Linked DNA regions of Homo sapiens: region 2 is linked to region 1. The links are contacts of gene promoters, found by promoter capture Hi-C in human tissues and cell types (Jung and others, 2019). All regions are on one chromosome and are shown on one strand. The core of a region is centred on a gene start or on the middle of the fragment in contact, and the rest is flanking DNA. Distances in the headings are between cores, read along the strand shown. Region 1 holds the start of OR10AG1 (olfactory receptor family 10 subfamily AG member 1). Region 2 has its middle 26 kb from the start of OR8I2.

Evidence for each region. The method cuts DNA at HindIII sites, captures the fragments that hold promoters and counts their contacts. A contact is called where the count stands out against the background at its distance.
Region 2: a contact is called between a fragment that was not itself captured here and the fragment with the promoter of OR10AG1 in region 1, in 2 of the 25 tissues and cell types used here (adrenal gland and mesendoderm cells).

Annotation. Positions count from the first base shown.
Region 1 is chr11:55,967,883-55,974,977 of GRCh38, reverse strand. OR10AG1 (olfactory receptor family 10 subfamily AG member 1) reads left to right here and starts at 5,033. Exons shown (of 2, transcript NM_001005491.2): 1 at 5,033-5,086; 2 at 6,471-7,095. The coding sequence starts at 5,071. The HindIII fragment of the contact is 11,099 bases long and covers 829-7,095 here.
Region 2 is chr11:56,063,806-56,070,900 of GRCh38, reverse strand. No RefSeq gene overlaps it. Among named protein-coding and RNA genes, the nearest start is that of OR8I2, 26 kb to the left of the region's middle. The HindIII fragment of the contact is 3,281 bases long and covers 1,404-4,684 here.

The sequences.
Region 1 (7,095 bases), core at 3,784-6,283:
AAAATATAAATAAATTCTATAACATGATTCATTTATCCAAAATAAATGAAAATATGTGTCAAATGTAAACCGCGTTTATGAATACACACAGCCGCTCCATGTACAACACCAAAACATGGAAACAATCAAAGCTCACCAGCAGAGGAATGCATAAGCAAATTACGGTATGTTCATCCAATGGAATTCTATTCTGCAATGACAATGAAAAAACTATTGATATTTACATCATAGATGTCTCTTAAATCTTTATGCTAAGGAAAAAAACTTCACACATAAAAATGTATATTCTGTTGATTATTAATTATCTTTAACTATAGGAATCTGATCTGTGGTTTCCTTGGGTTACAGGCGAAAATGAATGATATTGAAAAATTTTAAGAAGGACTGTTTCTGGATAATGTGAATGTTCTGTACCTTGATTGTGGTTTCACAATTGAATATGTCTGTCACCACATTGAATTTTAAATATAATTAAATATATTTTAAAGTATGTAGTTTATTTTCTGAAAATTATGCTTCAGTAACATTGTTAATATAAGAGTAAGACCATATTAAAAATAATAATTACATTGTATTAATATAAGATGCAAATATATTTTTATAAAACAACTAAAATACATGGACAAATATCAGGAATAATTATTGTGTTGTAAATTTTAACATTTAAACATAAATATAAATGTATTCAAGTTATCACATGCTATGTTGCATTTGAAACTTGCTTTTAAATACAGGTTTCACAATATAATATGTCAATTTTAGTTTCTCCATTTACTTTCAAAATTGTCAGAGTTAGATAATAAATAAATTGATGCTCTAAGTGATGCCTAAAATCTCAGAGAGCTACCAATTAGCCAGCTTTAACTTGAAACAGAGAGGCATGAGGGTACTAGGATATTTAAAATCTATATTTCAGAAAAATTTGTCACAGGGATTGTTGTGCAGTAATTAAATGAGAGTTTTTTTTTTTTAATTTCCAAGAAAATGTTACAGCCAAAAACATCACAAGGTCAAGATTACTAAATCTTTGACTCTTCGATCTGTAAATAAATTCCAGGTCCTCAGACCTGCTTCACCATTAATTGAGATGCAAATCTGAGCAGGGTGCAAGGAGACTGGGATTGTTCAAATCTCCTTTAGATGCCACTGCAAAAGAGGTAAACAAGGTAGAGTGGAACCAAGCGTTTAGAAGAAAAATTAATAAAGGAATCTATTTGTATGCAGGGTAAGTGTCCTTAAGATTCTACCCAGAGAAATAGTGACAGCTGTCTCTCCAAAAAAAAAAAAAAAAAAGCATCAGCATGTTCCACTCCAATGTCACTGTATACTGAGTGTGTAGTGGAAGAAATATTTCCATTTTTTATTCATTGGTCTCTTAAACTGAAGGAGATCACCCATACCTAATATAGAGAAATGGGTAATAATCATAGATCATAAATTTTTAGGGCTGAACGTTATGGCATTGGGGAAATACCTTCTATATTTGGGAGAAAGAGTGAAATACCCTGGGGTGGAATCTGCCTTGATGTTCTCCAAAAATCGTTTTGTTTTTTTGACCTACAGTAATACAACATCCCCTAGCCCTCTCACATTTAAGTTAGATCATGTTAATAGTTTCTACAATAGCATATGTGTGGAAATGACGCATCTATCATGTGCTGAGACTCTTTAGAGGGAGTTTCTTTCCTTATGCTCTGTCCATACTTGGTTCTCAGCTCTCTGAATGCTCGTGGTCCAATAGAGAACTACAAAGATGACCTAGGGAACAATAGGACTATCAGATGGAAGGAAATAGAGTTTTTTAATTACTAACCACCACATTGCACTATGATATGAATGTAAGATACTTCTTTATTTTGATAAGGCGTTGATATATCTGTGGTAATGTTTCAGGTTTTAGACTTGTTCAGGTCACTGTGGTATTTAAATGAATTATGAAATACCCAATTTATCCAATTCTCCTTTTTCATAATACACCAGTGTACTCCAGTGGAAAATGGACATTCAGCTTGTCCCAACCTGGTAATGGAAAGTTTCTGGAAAATCATGAGTACCATTTTCAATTGTAGATGGAAATGAAGAAAGCCCTCTTTGGACATACCAAATCAGTGATAATAAAGAGTACAGAGGAACAATGTAGGAGAGGCATGCTGTGGTATAGAGAAGCAGATTTAGCATGCATAGAGGAAGTTGGTTTTAGAAACATACTGTCAAATGGTCATAGAACGCCAAACAAGAAGAAACAAATGTAACTCCACATAGAAGTAGATTTGGTGCTCCTGATTTTATGCCTGAGAAACATCACCATACACACCCGGAAGTAGCTGCAATAGGGAAAGGATGTTGAAAAGTTTCTTCTTTTCCTTCTGTTTTAAATAATCTAGTTTAAAATGTTTATTTTTGAAGTGGCTTGCATTAAATTTTTTTTTTTTATTGTAGGTTCAGGTGTCCATTTGAAGGGTTGTTCCACATGGGGTTTGTTGTACAGATTTCACCCAGGTATTATTTTTTGTTTTTCTTTTGAGACAGAGTTTCACTCTTGTTGCCCAGTCTGGAGTGCAATGGCACGATCTCGGCTCACCGCAACCTCCACCTCCCAGGTTCAAGTGATTCTCCTGCCTCACCCTCCCTAGCAGCTGAGATTACAGGCATGTACCACTACACCTGGCTAATTTTGTATTTTTAGTAGAGATGGGATTTCTCCATGTTGGTCAGGCTGGTCTCGAACTCCTGACATCAGGTCATCCGCCCTCCTCGGCCTCCCAAAGTGCTGGGATTACAGGCTTGAGCCACAGTGCCTGGCCCTCACCCAGGTATTAAGCCTAGTACCCAATAGTTATTTTTTCTGCTCCTCTCCCTCCTTTCATTCTCCATCCTCAGGTAGGCCCTCCATGTGTCCATGTGTTCCCATCACTTAGCTCTCACTTTTAAGTGAGAGCATGCAGTATTTGGTTTTCTGTTCTTGAGTTAGTTCGCTAAGGATAATGGCCCTCAGCTCCATCCATGTTCCTGCAAAGGACATAGTCTTCTTTTTTAATGGTTTCATAGGATTCCATGATGTATACGTACCACATTTTCTTTATCTAGTCTACCACTGATGGACATATAGATTGATTCCATGTCTATGCTATTGAGAATAGTGCTGCAATGAATGTATGTGTGCATGCATCTTTATAATGGAATGATTTCTATTCCTTTGGATCTAGAGCCAGTAATGTGATTATGGGGTAGAATGGCAGTTCTGTTTTTACCTCTTTCAGGAATCGTCACACTGCTTTCCACAATGGTTGAACTAATTTACACTCCCATCAAGACACTGTAAGTGTTGCCTCTTCACTGCAACCTCACCAGCATCTGTTATTTTTTGACTTTTTAATAATAGTGATTTTGACTGGTGTGAGATGGTATCTATCTCATTGTGGTTTTGATTTGCATTTCTCTAATGATCACTGGTTAGTGATGGAAAGTTTGATTTGCATTTCTCTAATGATCACTAGTTAGTGACCATTAGACCCGCTCAGGGAGGGACGGGCCCACAAACGCTCCGAGGACAACGGCTCTGCAGCAGGGCCAAAGGTGCACTCACTCCGGGAGCAGTGGCACACAGGATGTATGGGCACACTCACAGTGGCAGGGAAGGGAAGGCAATGTCCTCTGGCACACACACTCACTGGCAAAGGGATGCTGGTATTAGTGTTTTTATAATTAGCATAAATAATAGGAGAGAGACATAAATAGGGGGTGGCTATGGGTGAGTGAGTGCAGGCAAAGTGGCCCGAGAGGCTGCAGTGCAGGGAGGGTGCTGGTGGGCTGGCCTGTGTCTGCACAGGCTACTCTGCTGGATCAGTCTGCTGGTCAGCCGGGGGTCCACCAGCACAGGAGCTATGATGTGGCCCCCAGGAGGTACCTGGCTGGGGGCCAAGCTGGGACCCAGGAGAGGCCAGCAAACTGAGTGGTGCTGAAGTTAGAATAGCCTCATGTAGTGGGTGAGACTGCCGTGCAGAATTCAGGTCCCATAGTTCCCATAGGGCTAAAGCTTCCTACGGGAGCAGGTCAAGCCTGGGGGGATGGGCATCCCTGGCCATGCTCCACTACAGACACTTTCACACTAAACCCTCTGGATTCCACACAGGCTGGAGTTCTGCCCCTACCACTTGTCTAAGCATCTCTCCCTGCCAGTTCAAGTGTTACTTGTGGTCCAGGGGTTTTCTCCTGCTGGGATTCGGAGGCTCATGGAAAGAGAGGGTTGCTCCTTGCCCATTCAACTCATGCTTTTGCAGGAGTCACTGGGGGCCAGGAATGCTTCCTGTGTGTGGTACCCCCATGCAGAATTCCTTTCCTTCTGAAGATTTGCTAGGAGTGCACCAATCTTCCTGATGTCCTGGTCCCTCGTGGGCGATGTTCCTCTTGACTGCGTCTAGTGGGACGTCTTGGAGTGGTATATTACATTTTCAATCAGCTGGATACATTTCCCTGGTGCCTTATAGACAACACAGAATGAAATAAATGTATAGATAGATTTTCTCAGCAGAATTAACATGTTTTAATATCCACAAAAAAAGTTAACCTAGGAACAGAGGGTTCCACATCTGAAAAAGAATCTCACCGTTCAATATGTCGAAGACATCAAGCATATCATGTTCGTGTGATTAAACACATGATATATTTTTTAAAGGTCTAGTTAATTTGGATCTGGATAAATTATTGGAATAGAAGTAAGGCAGACAAATCCACACTAAGTATTAGGGGCCTCAAATACACAGTTGGAAAATTTTTAACTTTTTCCTGAAAGTAATACTAGACAACTAAATGGTATTTAATTAACTCCCCTCATGAGGAGATGAAGAGGAGGATAAGTTTACTTAAAGTAGTTTTGAAAAATGAATCAGAATGATTGACAAACAGAAGCAGCCTTCTAGAAATTAAACTGATACTCAAGAGAAGACACATCCCAGGTTGAGTCTGACTATTCCTATATAAGAGCTGTTGCTGTTTGAAACAAGCAAGCGTATTGCAAAATTACAGTTCCCGAGAAAAGGAAGAGCTTAAAAAGTCTGTACAGACAGCTTCATGCAAATCCCTAAAGGTAAGCCATAATTGGGTTGACAGACTATTTTATTTAAGAATAGTTACAAGTTTGTGGATAGAAATGCAACTAATAAAACAGAAAAGCATGAAATTTTGAGACCTTTATCTGAAAATTAATTATTTAACATTTAAATCATGTATCTCTTCACTACAAAGTTAAATAAAATTAGATGTCCAATAATGGTAAAATTGCATTAGTGATGAAAAGTCATTTAAGGCAATTTTGAAAACTAGTACTAATAGAAATGTATAAATATGAGATAGTATTTGTCTGATCACTTTCATTTATCAACGTATTAAGTCAAATGCATTGGCTGACCGGGCTAAAATAGGTATAGGTGCAGCAGATTTGAAGACACAGAAAAAAAGAATTTGTTTAGAAAGTTGGAGAACAAACGTTAAGCAAGTGTAATGGGAATTGACAAGCAGTGATTTCCTCATATTGGATGACATTGACATGAAGTGAAGCAAGACAGTGTGTTTTTGTTTTGTTTTGTTTAATTTTTTGGTCCCATTTATATGCTCTGGCCACTTAGATGGCCAGAGTAAATGTTAGCTGGGTTTAATCAAAGAATTTTACTTTAATAAGGCAACAGGATGAAGGGAAAATAGAGAGAAGGAATTGTATTTGGTTGAAAGGAACTGTATTTGGTTATATGACAATGGAGAAATTCACTTAGATAAAAAAAAGAAATGTAAAAAAAATTGTGATGAATTTCTACATCTTGATTAAGTTATAATTTAATTACTATTTAGCATTCACTGTATTCAGGGCAATAACAGGGGAAGTCAATAAACTGCCTACTGGTATTAGTGTTTTTATATTTAGCATAAATAATAGGAGAGAGACATGAAGTAGAGCAACAATAATGCATGTATTTAGTCTCTCAGTAACCAAGAAATTGTTTAAGATAATTGATTCTCACTGGTGCATAAAAGGAAAAGTTTAAAATTCATTTTGAGTATGAATTAATCGTAATATTCAAGGGCAACATTTTGAATTAAAAAAACTGGAATATGACTACCAATACAAAGAAAAATGATATTCTCAGATGAAATAGTAAAAGCCTACACTATAACTCTACTCTTAAGTGTGAAATAATAAGATGTTATTCCTCCATAATATTTTCTAAACAACAATGCATGCTTCTCAATGCCTCTGGTTGCATTATATCCCAGTATAATAAAATATATTGAGGTTTCATTTCTTAAATTGATTTTAATGCTAAATCAGTTTATTATCTAGAAACAGAGCAAGTACTGGTGAAAATGACTTAAGAGCTTAAGTAAGTATATTCCTGTATCTCATTTAGTTAACCCAAGAGGAAAATATTGTTCAAAATATGGATGAATTAACTGTCTTGAATTTGCTATATCTGCAGATGGAGAGCAAACTAAAAGAGAAAAATCAAATGTGACTACAATAATGGAATTTGTTCTTTTGGGGTTTTCTGATATTCCCAATCTCCACTGGATGCTTTTTAGTATATTTTTACTTATGTATTTGATGATCCTGATGTGCAATGGCATCATAATACTACTAATAAAAATTCACCCCGCTCTCCAGACTCCCATGTATTTTTTTCTTAGCAATTTTTCCCTTTTGGAAATCTGTTATGTAACAATCATTATCCCAAGAATGCTCATGGACATTTGGACTCAGAAAGGAAATATTTCTTTGTTTGCTTGTGCTACACAAATGTGTTTTTTTCTTATGCTTGGAGGCACGGAGTGTCTCCTTCTGACAGTGATGGCCTATGACCGCTACGTGGCTATTTGTAAGCCTTTGCAGTATCCTCTAGTGATGAACCACAAAGTCTGCATTCAGCTGATAATAGCTTCCTGGACCATCACAATTCCTGTAGTAATTGGGGAAACATGCCAAATTTTCCTTTTGCCCTTTTGCGGAACTAACACAATTAATCATTTCTTTTGTGACATCCCGCCAATACTCAAGCTTGCTTGTGGAAACATATTTGTGAATGAGATAACAGTCCATGTAGTAGC
Region 2 (7,095 bases), core at 1,795-4,294, 98 kb before region 1:
TGAAAAAAAATCGAAAAAAAAAAAAAAAACCAAAAATATTAGGGTCTTAGCTTAAGGCTGCATTTAAAATTCTGGTCTTAATGGGAACAAAAATCTAAAGTAAACTGTATTTTACATCTATATAAAGAAAAGAAAAAAACCTAAAACAGAATTAACATTTGACCCAGCAATCCCATTATTGGGTATATATCCAAAGGAATATAGATCATTCTATCATAAGGACACATGCATGTGTCTGTTCATTGAGGTAGTATTCACGTAGCAAAAACATGGAATCAACCTAAATGCCTATCAATGGTGGACTGGATAAAGATGTGGTACATTTACACCATTGAATACTATGCAGCCATAAAAAGTAATGAGATCATGTCCTTTGCAGCAACATGGATGGAGCTGGAAGCCATTATCCTAAGCAAACTAACACAGGAACAGAAAAGCAAATACTGCATGTTCTCACTTATAAAGGGAAGCTAAACATTGAGTACATATGGACCCAAAGAAGGGAACAACAGATACTGGTGCCTACTTGAGGGTGGAAGGTGGGAGGAAGGTGAGGATCAAGAAAGTACCTACTGAGTACTATTCTTATTACCTGGGTGATAAAATTATCTGTTCACCAAACCCCCACGACACACAATATATCTATATAATTAACCTGCATATGTACCACTGAACATGAAATAAAAATTGAAAACAAAAGACAGAAGAAAAGCCCAGTTCACAAAAGCATAAGAACTAAATTTGGAAATAGAATGTATGTCCCATAGAAGCCCATTTTTACACTTCTAATTTCAAATTTAATAGTTGCTAATGTCAAATGTATCGAGATATAAGAGTAACTGTACTATGGCATTTAAACCTGAAATATTCGACTAACGTCTTCATGCTTAGTTCCTACTCCACAGTTTTAAAGTTAGATATGACAAAAGCTAAGGACCGAAGGTTCGGGAGTCATCCTTTGAAAGTAACCAGAGGCCCTGGCTTCTCAGAAGAGTGCTTACTGGGAATGAGAGGAGAAGGCACTCTAAACTGAAATGTGAAATATGGCAACAGCAAGTTATAATTGGTCTTTGATATCCAATAGAAATACTTTACTGAGACTCAAGAAAAATAAGTTCTCATACTTTTTCCTGAGAAAAAGCAAAGCAAATCCATAAAATAAAGTAAACCTATACAACGTACAGATACATTTGCAATGCTTTCTTTTCATATTGCAACGCAATTCTTAGAATATGCAATGTCTTTTTCAAATAACCAATGCATATCTGTCAATTATTACCACATTTTGCCTGAAAAATTAACTTTTATTTACAAAAATACAAATGTATATAAATTGGTACCATCTTCTAGGCCTAGATTATTGTGCTTTTAGCAGGCTTTGTCCAGACTCTTAATTGGAGTACCATGTACCATTTTTTGGAATCAAATGAGAAAGAAGCCAATTCCTAGTTACTCTAAACCATATTTTAAACATTAAGTCAACAGTGTCCTACTAGATAAGCGAAATTTATAGATGACTGGCTTCCTTACATAGCCATGATACTGTACTGTACTTTCTCTCATTCAGTCTTTGGCATGCTTCGAAAAAGGGTGTCTTAATTTCCTGACCTGGGTTCCAGTAACTCAGAACACCGATTTACCTTTCTGCTCATAACAAAGTCCTGTTTGTTTAAGAAGCATAAACAGTAGAACTGGGAAGGAGTGAAGAGCACAAGGCACCGGTCTCCTTGACAGGGCTGGATTCAGCACTGGGTCTATCTACGATGGTGATCAGGGTCAACCTAGCAGCCTTCATCATCCTCCTTCTGTAAAGGGAGTGTGTGAGGACACCATGGACAGAGGTGAATCTTCCAAAAGGGTGGGATGGAGTACATTGGCTCTGGGCCTCTTTGAACCAGGTGAGGATATAAATAAATACTTCAAACAAATTGGGATACTGGCAGCTTTACTTCTCCAGAATAAAAATAATATGTTTGGTCACTTCGTTATCTTTTTACTTGAGAGATACAATTCTTGCAGAGTATGTAAAACTCAGGAAAAGAAGAAGACTACTGAAATAATGACAAACAAGCAGAGAACTTTGAGATCTGGAGCATCTACAGGGATAGGTGAATAATCCCCATGGGAATATGTAGTTATGACTTAGATTACAATTCCTCTTTATGAAAGACTGTTCCACTGAATTAAAACCCTGATATTTTTCATTATTCCAATGAAAGTTACACAACTATTTTGAAGCTAATGTAGAAAAATAGATTGAAGTGTAGTATGAGGGTGAGAACAGATAGCCAGGTTACAAGTTCCTCCTGTCCCTGTAATTTGAAGTGTTTATCAGATAAAAATATACTTTTTCAAGTATAAAATACTTATACTTTTTAATACTTTTAAAAGTATAGATATATGAACCGTTCTCTTTTCTTCATTTTAAAATGTTTTAACTAATTTGTAGAACACATATGTTATTCAAATAAGTGAGTTTAACTTACCAATAGAAGAAAAAATGTTCAATACCTCAGCTCATTTAGAAACCTCCATAACCACCTCTTCCCATGGTTTATCTCTCTGTAGTCTGCCTAAGACAAACACAAAGACAAAGCACGGACAATAATTAGTTAAATTTGTCTTAAATTTATAGTGATGCATAAATTAAGTAAATGATATTGTAATAGTTACAGGTAGCAGCACTGATATTCAAACTTATTCTTTACAATATGAGAATCATAGGTACAACTTCCTTGGCATGAAAGTAAGAGGAAGATGATCAAAACACACATATGTTTATTACAGCACTATTTAAAATAACAAAGACATGGAATCAACTCTAACGCCCATCAATGACAGACTGGATAAAGAAAATGTGGTACATTTACACCATAGAATACTATGCAGCCATACAAAGGAATGAGATCATGTCCTTTGTAGGGACATGGATGAAGCTAGAAACCATCATCTTCAGCAAACTAACACAGGAACAGGAAACCAAACACCGCACGTTCTCACTCATAAGTAGGAGTTGAACAATGAGAACACATGGCACATGGAGGGGAACATCACACACCAGGGCCTGTCAAGGTGTGGGGAAGGGAAAGCCTTAGGACAAATAGCTAATACATGTGGGCCTTAAAACCTAGATGACGGGTTGGTAGGTGCAGCAAACTACCATGACACACCGTATACTTATGTAACAAACCTACATACATGTTCTGCACTTGTATCTCAGAACTTAAAGTAAAATTAAAAAAAAAATCAAAACATAAACTTGTCAGGCCAGGCATACTGTAATCCTAGCACTTTGGTAGGTGGAGGTAGTTGGATTTCTTGAGCTAAAGAGTTCAAAACCAGCCTGGGCAACATAGCAAAACCCCTTCTCTCCAAAACACACAAAAAACCTGTGGTCCCAGCTACTCAGGAGGCTGAAGTGGGAGGTTTGCCTGAGCCCAAGAGGTCGAGGCTGTAGCAAGCTGAGATTGCACCACTATACTCCAGCCTGGGCGACAGAGTGACACCCCTTCTCAAAAATAAATAAATAAAATGAAAATGAAAAACACAATTGTATTAGAAGATAATTTTAGACAAAAAGTTTAGTTATGTATTTGTCTTAGTTCAAATTGTTGCAGGAGAAAGGAGTCAAGATGTAGACCTCAAGAGAGGGTTCCTGGATCTGATGCACAAAGGAATTCAAGGCAAGTCACAGAGTGTGATAAGAGGTAGTTCATTGAAAGCTACTCAAATACAGATCATGGTGTCCTCAGAAAGCAAGCAGAGGAACGTCTCATCTTTAAGCTTTATTTATGTTGAAATCTTACCTGTGTAAAAATGAGGCTAAGCTATGTCTACCTGCAGGTGAGCTGACATCGTAGCAAAATTTATCATTCTGTTGATTTAAAGAAAACTATCCTTGGCATTTTAGTGTCTAAGCAAATCAAAGCATAACTATAATTACCTTAAAAGCAAAGTTGTTACACAATACTGAAGCATCTAGACTTTTTTTTTATCAGAGGAGTTTGTCCTTACACGCTTTATTCAACTGCTTCCTTAACTGTAATCATCTTATGACCATGGGCAGTGACAGGGAAGGAATGTGCATTGCTAGTTTTAAGATGGAGCTGATTTTAAAGTGGTGTCACCCTGGCTTTTCTGTGTTTGTGGTTCCCTAACAAAATGGGAATAAAGTCCCTGGAGTTAATCCTCTCATTAAAAGGATATAGTACATATATTATTGAAAATTCTTCTTTGTTTCTTGAGGGATTTAGGAAACTGAAGAACTTAATGGCTCCCCTAAGGCATTTACTTTCCTGAAGTTTACAATGAATAAAAGGAAATGTGGGGCAAGTGTGGGGGGAAAACCAAATGCATGATCTCTGAAAAAATTCAATAGAATTGCTAGTGGTGCTTTCTTGGTACTCTCTCATGCTTTTAAGAACACGTTACTTGGGCCTAGTTGTCCAAGTAATAGAAAAAAAACAGCAAAAAAAAGCAATAACATAAAAATATCAAATCAATTCCATTCCTTGATTTCCTTTCCAAGAATATCATCAAAGAAAATTAAAACTACTATTTCTTAAAAGGCTTTCTTAAAATCAACCCAGTCCCCCTCTCCTGATTTATTCCTCCAGTCCTGCAGGTGTCCCCTGATGGAGTCAATATTGTGGCTTTTTCCAGCTTAAACTGTATCATGAGGGATTTTGGTGACAATGTTTCACATGTTTCTCTTACATATGTGGCTACATAAGAATGGGCCTTTATTCTTTATACTAAAAACAATTAAATTTCATCTTCTTGAATTAAAATGTATTAGTTTCCTAAATTAAAGGTTAATGGAGCAGATAGTAGGGGTGAGGACTGGGTGATATTCTAAGATGAGTTAGTACAGGAGATGATCCATTATCTCAGAAACCTTAAAACATTCTAAGTACCTATGATGCATTCTTTTTTTAAAATATAATTTATTTCCAATCTGTATATGAAGAATAAATAAATAAATATTATTTTCTCCTAGAAAATTGTAGATTAAGGAAAAAAGAATCTGAAAATACTTTATAAACATCTATATTTGCAGGCATTCAGCTGACAAGAACTTAAACAATAAACAAAACAAGCAACCCAAAATTTAAAACAAAATACAAAAAGAAACCACAGCAAATAAGTACATTCAGAAGAACCTAATGGCTTAGTTAGGATATTTAGAGTATTTCTGAGAATGCAATTGAATTTGTCACATGGAAACACTCAATAGCATTATTTCAAACTTATTTAGCTTATATTTGTCAATGTTAGGTTTTTTGTCATGTAAGAAGTCTTTTTGTGAAAAATATTATTCAGAAGTTATATTAATGAATGCATTAGGTCTCTCCATATTAAAATGTCATATTTCAGAGAAATGTTTTTTAAAGTGAAAGCTGTTGACAAATATAATACAATAAATTTTAATTATTTTAAAATGCATATAATTGAATGAGTTTTGACAAATGTGGACTCCAGGGCAATTACTAGCACAATCAAAATATAGAACATTTCCATCATCCTCCAGACCTCTTGATTTACTGCCAAGAAACCCTTCTATCCTACTGTCAAACCCAAGAAGCTTCAAATCATCACTATATTCCTATGTATGAGATTTGCTTTTGTAGAGTTTCATAAGATTGAAGTAGTTCAATGTATGTTTGTTTTTTCTTGATTTTTTTCAATCTCAACAGGTTTTGAGAATCATTCACATTGTTGCATGTATTGCTAGTTTTTTTAAATTGTTGAGTACTATTCCAATGTATGAATTTTGTACATTATGTTTATTCAGTCACCTGTTGCCTGACATATGGACTGTTTGCAATATTCAGCTATTATTTATAAAGTGGCTATAAATATTAGATTAAAACTTTTGTCTAAACATAACTCTCTGTTCTCTTGGATAAATATCTACTAGTTAAGTCTTCCAATAAGTCAACATGTATACCTATCCATTTGTTTAGCCCTTCTCCAATTTCTTGTAGCAATGCTTTGTAGTTTTGGTTTTTATAATTGAGTCTTGACTTATTTTGTTAAATTTATTTCTAAATATTTTTTTGCATTTTTATACTAATTTTAATGAAAATATTTTTCTAATTTCAGTTTCAGATTGCTTGCTAATAATATGTAGAAACATGACTGATTTTTATATATTGTTGTATGACTTGCTTAGGAATTTTTAGATACAGAATAAAGTCCCTTGAGTATAATGAGCATTATACTTCTCTTTTTCGACTTGAATGCTTTTAGTTTCTTGTAGATTTTATTGTTCATTTCTTGATTAATAATTTTTTTCTTCTTTTAAATTTTTCTTTGCTGACATTTAGGCCTGTCAGAACTAGACTTTGTTTTTGTGTATTGTGTGTTATTTAATAGGAATCTCCAGTAAAATATTGGATAAAATCGCTCTACCAAATGTAGAAAGTCTTGTTTATTATCATTTCAGGACTTTTTGCTTTGTTCTGTTTGATTTTTTTACTTCTTTCTCTTCTCCTCTGACTTCTACAATATATCCATTAATATCATTTATTATGTCCACAGATTTCTGAGGCTTTGTTCACTTTTCTTCATTCTTTGTATTTTTTGTACTTCAAATAGAATAATTTCCGTTGATCTGTCATCAACTGTACTAATAGTTTCATCCATCATCTCATACCCATTTTTGAATCCTTCTAGTGGATATTTAGTTTTAGTAATTGTACATTTTATCTACAGAATTTCCATTATGTAATTTTGTTGTTCACTTTCTTTTTATTGAGATTTTCTATTTAAAAATCTGATTAATAATTACTGTCATACTTTCTTTTAATTATGTATATGCATTCAATTATTTGACCATATTTTTGTAGTGATGGTTAAGTCTTTTTGTCTGCTGAATCCAGCATCTGGGTCATTCAGAGAGTTTCTACAGACTGATTTTTTTCCCCAAGTAACATTTTTCTGTTTCTTTGCAGGCCTTGTGCATTTTTGTTGAAAACTATACATTATAAAAAATATATTTTAGATACTCAGCATTTTATATGTGCAGCTTTATTAAACTATCTTGGCTTTTTGATCTGATTTGTTTTAGTTATTGTTTTAAATATATGTATA